Linked DNA regions of Homo sapiens: all the other regions are linked to region 1. Evidence: promoter capture Hi-C in 16 types of primary human blood cells and fetal thymus (Javierre and others, 2016). All regions are on one chromosome and are shown on one strand. Each heading gives the region's core, a stretch centred on a gene start or on the middle of the fragment in contact. The rest is flanking DNA. Distances are from core to core; before and after follow the strand shown.

Region 1 (3,007 bases), core at 269-2,768:
CAGGCTTTATCCTATAGTGACTGCAGTCTAATCCCCCTCAGGCAAGCTGCTCTTTTGTTAGGTGGACGCAGCCTTTCCAGGCTTTTGCGATGTTAGCAATGGCTCAAGCTCAAGAGTTAACTTACATTTGCTGGCTAGCAGCTCGTCAAATGCTTCTGACCACAGCTGTGCTTCCTCAGGAGAAGGCCTGCAAGAGAGGTTCTGTATGTTAGCTTACGCACATCAGAGTTCCCCTTTTCAGTTCAGCAGCTAACTATTGATATTTGCAAGCACAGGATTCTCAACTTACTTGATGAAAGCTTGCTGTTTGCTTTTTTTGCCGGTTTTGGGCTTCCCAGGAGTAGAGGAATTTTGTAAGAAGTAGCTCAAACGGGTCTTCCAATCTTTTAAACTAAAACAAAAAATTAAAAAGATAATTACTAACTAGCAACACTTGAATATGCTACTGCAGCTGAACGCATTTTTACCAAATAAAGTCACCCAGTAACTAGAGACAAACCGCATAAGGCAAAGCAAGAACTCTTCAAATAAGTCTTATCCACCTAACATTTAAACCTCATGTACTGAGCAGTTTCGTCCATTAATCTGACCGTATCTACTAGTTTTACAACTAAGGGCAGGGCTACCTATAATCACTAGGGTATTTTAAAGAATTGTTAATGAATTTAGTTCAAAAGGCAGACACTATTTCTGGCTCACAAAGGGCATCAGTTTGTTTGCAAGGTTAATTACAATTCCGAGACGTTTTGCACTTTAATGAAAAGGACAGACATGGAACTGTCTGGAGCCGGCCCACGCTTCTCTCTTTAGAGCAGGAGGTTCTGGACCACGCCAGAGACTGTACAAAGAGGTGGGTGACTGATTCCCCTGCGCTCTTCCTTCCCCACCTACGACACTTCTTTTAAGCAGACGCTGCATAACAATTATTTGTTCCACATTCGGACTGGGTGAGATCTGCTCTATAATTAAAAAACAAAAATGGATTTTAAACGAGTATATTCAGAACCAGCAAGAGCATCACCTTCCAGTAGCTGTGTAAGCTGATGAGAACTCATCATGCAACGTATGAATGCTGGGGACGCGCTTCAGCCGCAGGATTCTGATGTCATTTTGAATGCAGGAGGACAAAAAGCCAACCCGCAATTTCTTAGCGCATCAACCACCGCCCTCATATCAACTGTCTCCCTCGGTTCTTAAACTGTACCCGAGCATCACCCAGATTTAACCTTACTTAACAAATTGACCTTTTCGATTTTTTTTCCCTGCATAGGCTCAGGCTAGTTTCCTAACGTCAAAGGCGAGCCCGAAAGTACCGCGTTTGCAGCTTGCAGTGTGGGGCAGGGGGTGGCGGGAGAGGGAAGAAAGCCATACTCACAGGGTCCGTTTCATCTTTTCTCGCTTCTCCTCGCTCTTGTGGCCACTGCCTGCGCTCTTGTCCATGGGTCTGCAGTCGTGTTGAACAGCCAAGAACATAGCACTTTGCATTATCGTTCTCCCGCTGGAGCCCCGGCTGTTTGCGGCTGGGCGTGCGTCGCAGCATTTATGAGGCCTCGGCTTGGGGGCGGGGCCTCGCGGCTCCGGCCCCGCCTCAAGAGGACGCGGATTGGTCGGCTGCAGACTGGCACGGGGATGGGTCAGCGCCCGCCGGCGGCAGTCACGGCTGCTGCCGAAGGGTCTCGAAGCCGGGGCGCTGCTGACGTCTGCGGCCCCGGCTTCTTGCGCACTCGGGCCACATAGCAGCGGCCAGCTGGGGCAGGTGTGGGAGCAGATGGAGAGTCTTCAGTGTGGGCCGCTGCGCACGACCTTTTGCTGAAGCGTGGCGGCCGGGCGGGCTCGAGGGCTTTGCGACGGAGGGAGGGAGCCGAAGTTGGCGGCGGCCCGGCGGGGGCGCCGGCGCTCCCTCACCCACCCTGACGGGCTCCCCAGCCCGAGGCCAGAGCGGCGATTCCCTGGCAGGAGGAGGTCGCCCGCCACGAGGCCGGAGTGCAGTGGCCTGATTTCGAATGAAGAGTGGGATTTTTCTTCCTTTTTTGAGCGCGTTCCCTGACCCCGCGCCTCATTTCTTGTTTGCTGTCCTGCTGTAGGACTCATTCGACACCCCCTGGTCTGTGAACTGAGGCAATGGGGAGACCCTCGCCCGTTTCTCTCTGCCACTTAACTTAAGGAAGGAGTAACCTGAAACGTTGATTGCCCAGGGGCAGGGTGGGATCTGCTCTGCAGCTTGCTGGGGCGTCTTGGAACACTTTGAGAATGAACATTAGGGATTGAACAAGAGAAAGTGACTTTATCAGAAGACAGTGCTTTAATTGGGTTTGCATTTTTGATCACTACTAGGCACGTGGCTGGGTCTGTCTATAGGGTCATTCCTCAGGAGTCCTTGGTCACATCTCCTGCCAAAATAGAAATCACAGATTTCCTTATGGTGGGAGAGAAAGCTGCAGACATAGAGATTTCATAGCTGTAATGCACCAGAATCAGTGAGTTCAAGGAGTCAGGATTTCCTCATGAGTCATTCTTGTTGAGTTAGGATTTACCAGAACATTTAATAACTGGCAAAAAGTAGGGGGGAGAATGAGTTAACAGTTTCCTTGATTAAGTTTTATTTGTTAATTCTTCAAGTATCATCTCTACTCCTGAAGGTTTTAAAACGACTTGATTGGTAAAGACAAATAGATTACCTCAACCACAAAATGAGTTGATTTCGGATAATATTACCAGAACTAGCCAGTGAAATGTTTAAGCGGCTTTGCAACCAAGCTGCAGATATTCTCTCTACTTTGTATTCGACTTCTTAAAAGGAAATTGGAAATAATTAATATATTCTTACGGTGAGCTGCCAGTAGTTGGAGCTCCAAGTTTGACTTGGAGGGCAAAACCTGCAGTTATTATTTAAGACAACAGTTGTGGACTTTATTGTGGAAAGGAAAATCGTGTAGATTTCAGTAATAGATACTTTGAAACATGCTTGTTAACTCTAGGAATGCCATTTTTTCTTAAGCATATGCTC
Region 2 (2,779 bases), core at 217-2,716, 650 kb after region 1:
GAAGTTTGACTAATAAAGTTTCAAAGGGATAAGAAATATAAGATATTTTAATAGAAAAAATATTCTAGAGATGTTGGTAATGTGGAGAATTGAATATATTTTCTCGGATCTTTTTTATTATACTCTAATTTGGAAGAATTTGTATGAAACTAGTATATAAGGTTTTTGCATTTTCTTTTTGAATTAAATAAATGCTAAGTATTAAAAGACATTATTTGTGCTTTACTTGCTATAATGCGTGTGTTTTTTCAAACTACTGAAGAAAGAGATGAATATCTCTCTGCTATGACAATATTGCATTGTGAAAACTCTTAAATTAATGAGCATTTTATCAGGTTATAAGGAGTAAAACATGTCATTTAAAACTGACAGGTATATAATTTTAAAAGAGCAGCTTTAAGTGTTCACGTGATTATTCAATTCAAGCGATTTAATTCAAGTGATTTAATTTTATGAAATATTTCTAGTCTCTTCAAATGAAATTTCTAACTTTCCTTATATTGCTGTGTAATTTTCAATAAATCAGAAATCCCTAACTGCATTTTTCTTAAATCTTTAATGATAGAATCAGCAAAATCTTCCTCAAAATACTGAAAATTTATTCACCTTGTTTCTTTGGCCAAGTGCCCAGATCTACTGGAGCGGGTGTCTTCATGAAACTCAGGTTTCTGCACAAGAAGACTTAGTCTATTTCTTTTTTCCTTAGCTCTGTAATAAAAAGGCCTTCATGTCAGGACAATTTAGATGACAGTTAAAATCTCTCCTGCTGACTACCAGAAAATTTTGTAGTTGGTAAAAACCCACGCCCACCCATACCCACACACTCATGAATCCCATTTAAATATTGTATTTGTGGAGGAATTAGGGTAACATACGAAAATGTTTCTCCTTTTGCTCACCGACAATCAAGTATTTGAGATTATATTTCAATAAAGATTGCACTAGTTCCTCTATGTGGCTAACATTATTACACTTTTTTTTTAATGAGAACACTTTAGATTTCAGTTTGTTGTTTAAACCTAAGAAATAAAAAGGTGTTTTTTTTTCCCAAATTATAGCAATACAAACAATATATTTTCCACCCAATAGTTCAAAAACAAGAGGTAATGAATCTTCAACCTCAATTATGCTTTTAAAAGTATAAGGCTGACTTAAAATTGTACAATTTTACCTGATTTTGGCTTCTTTGCTTGTTTCTTCTTTTCCTGAACCATGTATTAACTTGAAAAAAGTTTTTTCTTTTGATTCACACATATTTATTTGAGAAAAGAAAAGCAATGTTGTTTCCATCTTCTCTCTAAAATGAAGAGATGTCTAATTTATTACATCCTTCCCTAGTTCATTTATTAATACTATTCCATACATATACATAGTAGAATAAAAAGTTATCACAACTCTTACAGTAATGTTTACAAAAAAGAAGTCAAGAGCTGCGTTTCTTTCTGTCTCTGCAGAAATGCAGAACTGAGGAAATGAAGTACAATTTGGTCCTAAGTTGTTTAGGGAAATGATACCACAAATTTGCAAAATGACTCTTGGTCTCTAAGATAAAGACTAGTCTTACCACAGTGCAACTTCTCGTTCAAGTTTGCGCAACCAGAATGATGCTTTAATAGACTCAAATAACACTGTCATTTCCCACAGGAACTTTTCAAAAAGTTTTTAAATGTGTGGACTGTGTGTTAAAATGTGTTATGGCAAAGTATTATATCAAACATTAGGAGATATTTTCTCCAGTTCTTAAAAAAGTATTTTTCTTATTGTTATTACATGAGTTAAGTAAATCACATTTAACTGACATAAGATTATGTAATGTTAATTACATTGGCTTAACATATTGTAACAAAATAAGACAATAGATCAGAATTTTATGGTTAAAAAAAGATTGTAGAAAGCATTTAATTTAACAGTTTTGGGCTGGGCACAGTAACTCATGCCTGTAATCTGGAGGCTAAGGTGGGCAGATTACCTGAGCTCAGGAGTTCAAGACCAGCCTGGGCAACATGGTGAGACCCCATCTCTACTAAAAATACAAAAAATTACCCAGGCACGGTGGTGTGCACCTACAGTCCCAGCTACTCAGGAGGCAGAGCCAGGAGAATCCCTTGAACCTGGGAGTCGGAGGTTGCAGTGAGCTGAGATCATGCCGGCTACTTCACTTCAGCCTGGGCAACGGAGCAAGACTCTGTCTCAAATAAATAAATAAAGTTTTAAGCACATATCTATAGAATGATTTTAGACATTTTTGAAATTTTTATCAGTCTGTGATGAAATGGAAAAAAATATGAAAAGTTTTTTTTCTTAAAGCTTTATTTTAATTCCTTTGATATAAAGGACTTGCTATTTTGAATTTGCTCTCCTGACTCTTTTGTTGTTAAAATGTTCTTTATAATGTAAAAATGTTCTTTATAATGACATGGATTAAGTAGAGATGGTAGTTTTTATATTTTAATGCCTTTATTAAAAAAAATGTTGACAACTCCAATTGGTTTAGCCTCCACTTCTTTCACTGTTTTATAGAATACAAAAGTCTTACAAATGCAGTTCTAGTCCATAATTCAAATTTTATTGAAAAATAAACCAAAGTTCACAGGCATTAGGTAATTTAATCCTACAAAGTTTCAGAGACAGGCCAGTGGAAAATCTGGAATTATCAGAGCCTTTGATCACCTACTATGTGCTTTAGTCCTTCCAAGAATCTTTGATCTCCAGTAGTGAATGCTTTAATCTAAAATGGTATATATTGAAAGCTGAGTTATACAAACCTAAAAGAAAATTT
Region 3 (3,039 bases), core at 280-2,779, 670 kb before region 1:
TAACTATAGGCACTGTGATATACAGCACATCTCTAGAACTTATTCATCTGGTATAACTAAAAATTTATATCTATTGAACAACTCCCGATTTCCTCCTTTCCCCAGCCATTGCTAAACACCATTCTATTCTGTTTCTATGTGATTATTTAGTTAACTCCATAAATGGGAAAATACTAATCTTACCTTCTCATACCTCAAATGGGGCAAAGATTTAGGAAGGTTCTCACAACTAGGGCTGCAAATCTGAGTGGCCCATCCACAAGAATTAAATAGGAAATTATCTGAAGAATTTAATTGACTATTAATTATAATTTACAATTGCCCAAAGACATTTCTTCTCTTGTGCCTTTAGCTGTAAATTACATTATTTAACATATATTGTTATTTCCTTTTGTACCTATTTTACGACAACCATTATGCTTGATTCATCATTTTTCCCTTATGTAGTGCTGTGTAGTATAATATCTTGGAGCTTATGATTTAATAAATATTGATCTCCCTTGGTCTTTATTATGCTAAGAAAAAGAGACCTGGTTCTCTTTTTCAGGTTATCATTAGGCTTGTGAAATGTGATATACAAAGTGGTTTAGAGCCTTGAAATGCAGTCAGGAAGCCATTCTAAGAACTACCTGCGTGACCTGAAACCTTGCAAAACAGGAACTTGTCTTTAACATTTGAACTGGGTCACACCGCCATGACCACAACATCCTGGAAAACAGCCGAATTTCACCAATGCTGCAACTCCTAAACAGTGACAACCAATGAACTGTGGACTCATGTACTAAACCAACCACTGTCACCAGTGATATCTTTCAAAACAACTTGTGATTACCTTCAGCATCCTTTTACAAATCTGTACCATCCTACCTCTCTTCAGAACACAGTTTAGTTTCTAGCTCAGTCTGTCCCTCAAATTGCAATTCCTAAGACCCCAAGAAATGCCTTATCTTACTGCATTGCAGTCTAGTCTTCACCTCTTCCTAGTTGACAGGCTCCACAATAAGATAAACTATGTGAGGAAAGAAGCAAGCTTTGTCAATACAGTCAAATTGACATTTCTAAGAATTATATAAGTTTTCCCCAGAAAAATACAGTGACTTCTCTTCAATTCACACATTTGTTTCTTGAAATTTTGGGGACCACTTACAAAAGTTTAATGCAATCTTACATATTTTGGATAAGTCACTTTATAACATTGGGATCAAAATGCCTACTATAGTTATTTTCTATAAGTGGTTTCCATTAAGATAACTACTTTAACAAATACTAAATTTTATTATATTACTTTAATTACATTACTTTATTAAATACTAAACTTTATTATACCACATTAACTTTCTTTCCAGTAAAATATTACATAGAGTAAGAATTTATATAGATAAGTAGTCATAGATATAATGTTTAAAAATACCTTTTGATATGTCATAGGAAACATTGCTTTTAGCTTCTTCTTCCCCTTACCAAATAGTACCACTTATTACAGTCCTGTGCACTGTTCTGCACCAATAAGTTGAGCCGTTGACAAATGCAATTGGATTATTAAAAATCTTGTTTTCCCTTGATTATATTACAATCTGCAACCCATGACTCTCCATATGGTATTAAAATAAGTTTGATTAGAATTCTAAGGGTAACAGTAAGTGAATCACATTATTATTTCCAAACACATCACTGGTATGAATGAGAGTTAAACACTAACGTATACTTTTAAAACATTATCAACAAATTCCCCCAGTAAACAGCCAAACACCACAGAAAACCAGAATTAATCCTACTATCCAAAATTGTTCTGTGCAAAAATGAAACAAGAATACAATCGACTTCTGATTTGACCCTTATTAAAGTAATGCAGCATATTACAGTGGGATATTCTAATGGGCAAGAGAAAAAAAACAAGTCAGTTTTTTGAAACACACTATTCCATATGGCTTTTCCAAGGAAGTCCTAAATTTGAAGAGAGCATCCTGTTCATTTACATGGTTTCCAACACATTTAAGTTGTATAAAGGAATACCCTAAGGAAGCTTTTCAAGTTTGTAAACCAAGCACTTTGCCTTTACCTTTATTTGCTCCCACCAAAATGCTAACGATATCATCTGAAATTTCCTGCATCCCAAGGCATATGTGTACTAATATTCATTTTACACAAGTAGTTACTACATAGACCATGTGTACTGAAAAGCCTAAAATATTTACTATCTGGCCATTTACAGAAAAAGTGTACCAACCCCCATCCCAAACTAAAGCTAAAGACTTTAAGATCCTCCCTGCTTCATTGCTTTGTTAAATGCTGGCTCAGTCTGTTACTGGATAGTCAAAGTTTCAGATTTAAATTCTGCAGCTGAAATTTACCTCTTAAAAAATCAATCTCCTGTCATCTCTCATAAATTGATACAATTCTTACAAAAAATATGTTTGCACACAGCCCTTCCCTCTTCTGTATTGTAAACCTACCTTTCAGGTACCCTATCATGTAGGTCTCACCTGACTTTTATAAGGAAGGTATACATCTGCCTTGGAGCTATCACAGCTGTTTCCAATTAGCTATCTGACTAAATGATTAGACAACCACACATTTTAAAGTCTATTTTTCATCTATGTAGCTTGTAAATAAAGCTCTAAATTTTAGTCTCTAATCTCAGTTGAATAGAAACCAATTCATGTTGGCCCCATGAAAGAAGCAGGTCTGGGGGCCAACAAACCCTTAAAAGACAAGTGGTCAGCACTAAAACCTCTAAGGGATTGAGGTAGCCCATTGGAAAGAAAAATTTGGAATAGCTATTGATAATCTTTCCATTTATTCCCTTCATTTGAGCACTTGAAAAACTCCTACAGCTGCCTGCCCATCATCTTTCTACTTCCCCTCTTTCTTCCTTTTCTTTTTATTTTTTTTCTTTATCTCCTGGAAGAAAAAAGTGGAACCAGATCTCAGACAGTAAAGAAGCAGAAAGCAAGAGAAAAAATAACTAGTTTAGCTCCTTCTGGGCTTCCACCCTGTATTAGTCTATTTTCACGCTGCTGATAAAGACATACCGAGACT

What was found. Contacts are between HindIII fragments. The CHiCAGO score rates a contact against its expected background, and 5 or more counts as called.
Region 2: a contact is called between the fragment with the promoter of RGS18 here and the fragment with the promoter of RGS2 in region 1, in 2 of 17 cell types (monocytes and neutrophils). The highest score is 11.0, in monocytes.
Region 3: a contact is called between a fragment that was not itself captured here and the fragment with the promoter of RGS2 in region 1, in 1 of 17 cell types (total B cells). The highest score is 6.3, in total B cells.

The regions. Positions count from the first base shown.
Region 1 is chr1:192,807,550-192,810,556 of GRCh38, reverse strand. It overlaps RGS2 (regulator of G protein signaling 2), which reads right to left and starts at 1,518. Exons shown (of 5, transcript NM_002923.4): 1 at 1,376-1,518; 2 at 290-391; 3 at 126-187. The coding sequence starts at 1,485. RefSeq lists silencers at 265-324, 1,832-2,041, 2,978-3,007 and an enhancer at 1,282-1,501. The HindIII fragment of the contact is 4,593 bases long and covers 302-3,007 here.
Region 2 is chr1:192,157,149-192,159,927 of GRCh38, reverse strand. It overlaps RGS18 (regulator of G protein signaling 18), which reads right to left and starts at 1,466. Exons shown (of 5, transcript NM_130782.3): 1 at 1,172-1,466; 2 at 607-708. The coding sequence starts at 1,290. The HindIII fragment of the contact is 5,451 bases long and covers 1-2,309 here.
Region 3 is chr1:193,477,114-193,480,152 of GRCh38, reverse strand. All of the region lies in intron 3 of LOC124904475 (a long non-coding RNA gene), which reads right to left. Among named protein-coding and RNA genes, the nearest start is that of LINC01031, 170 kb to the right of the region's middle. The HindIII fragment of the contact is 993 bases long and covers 1,033-2,025 here.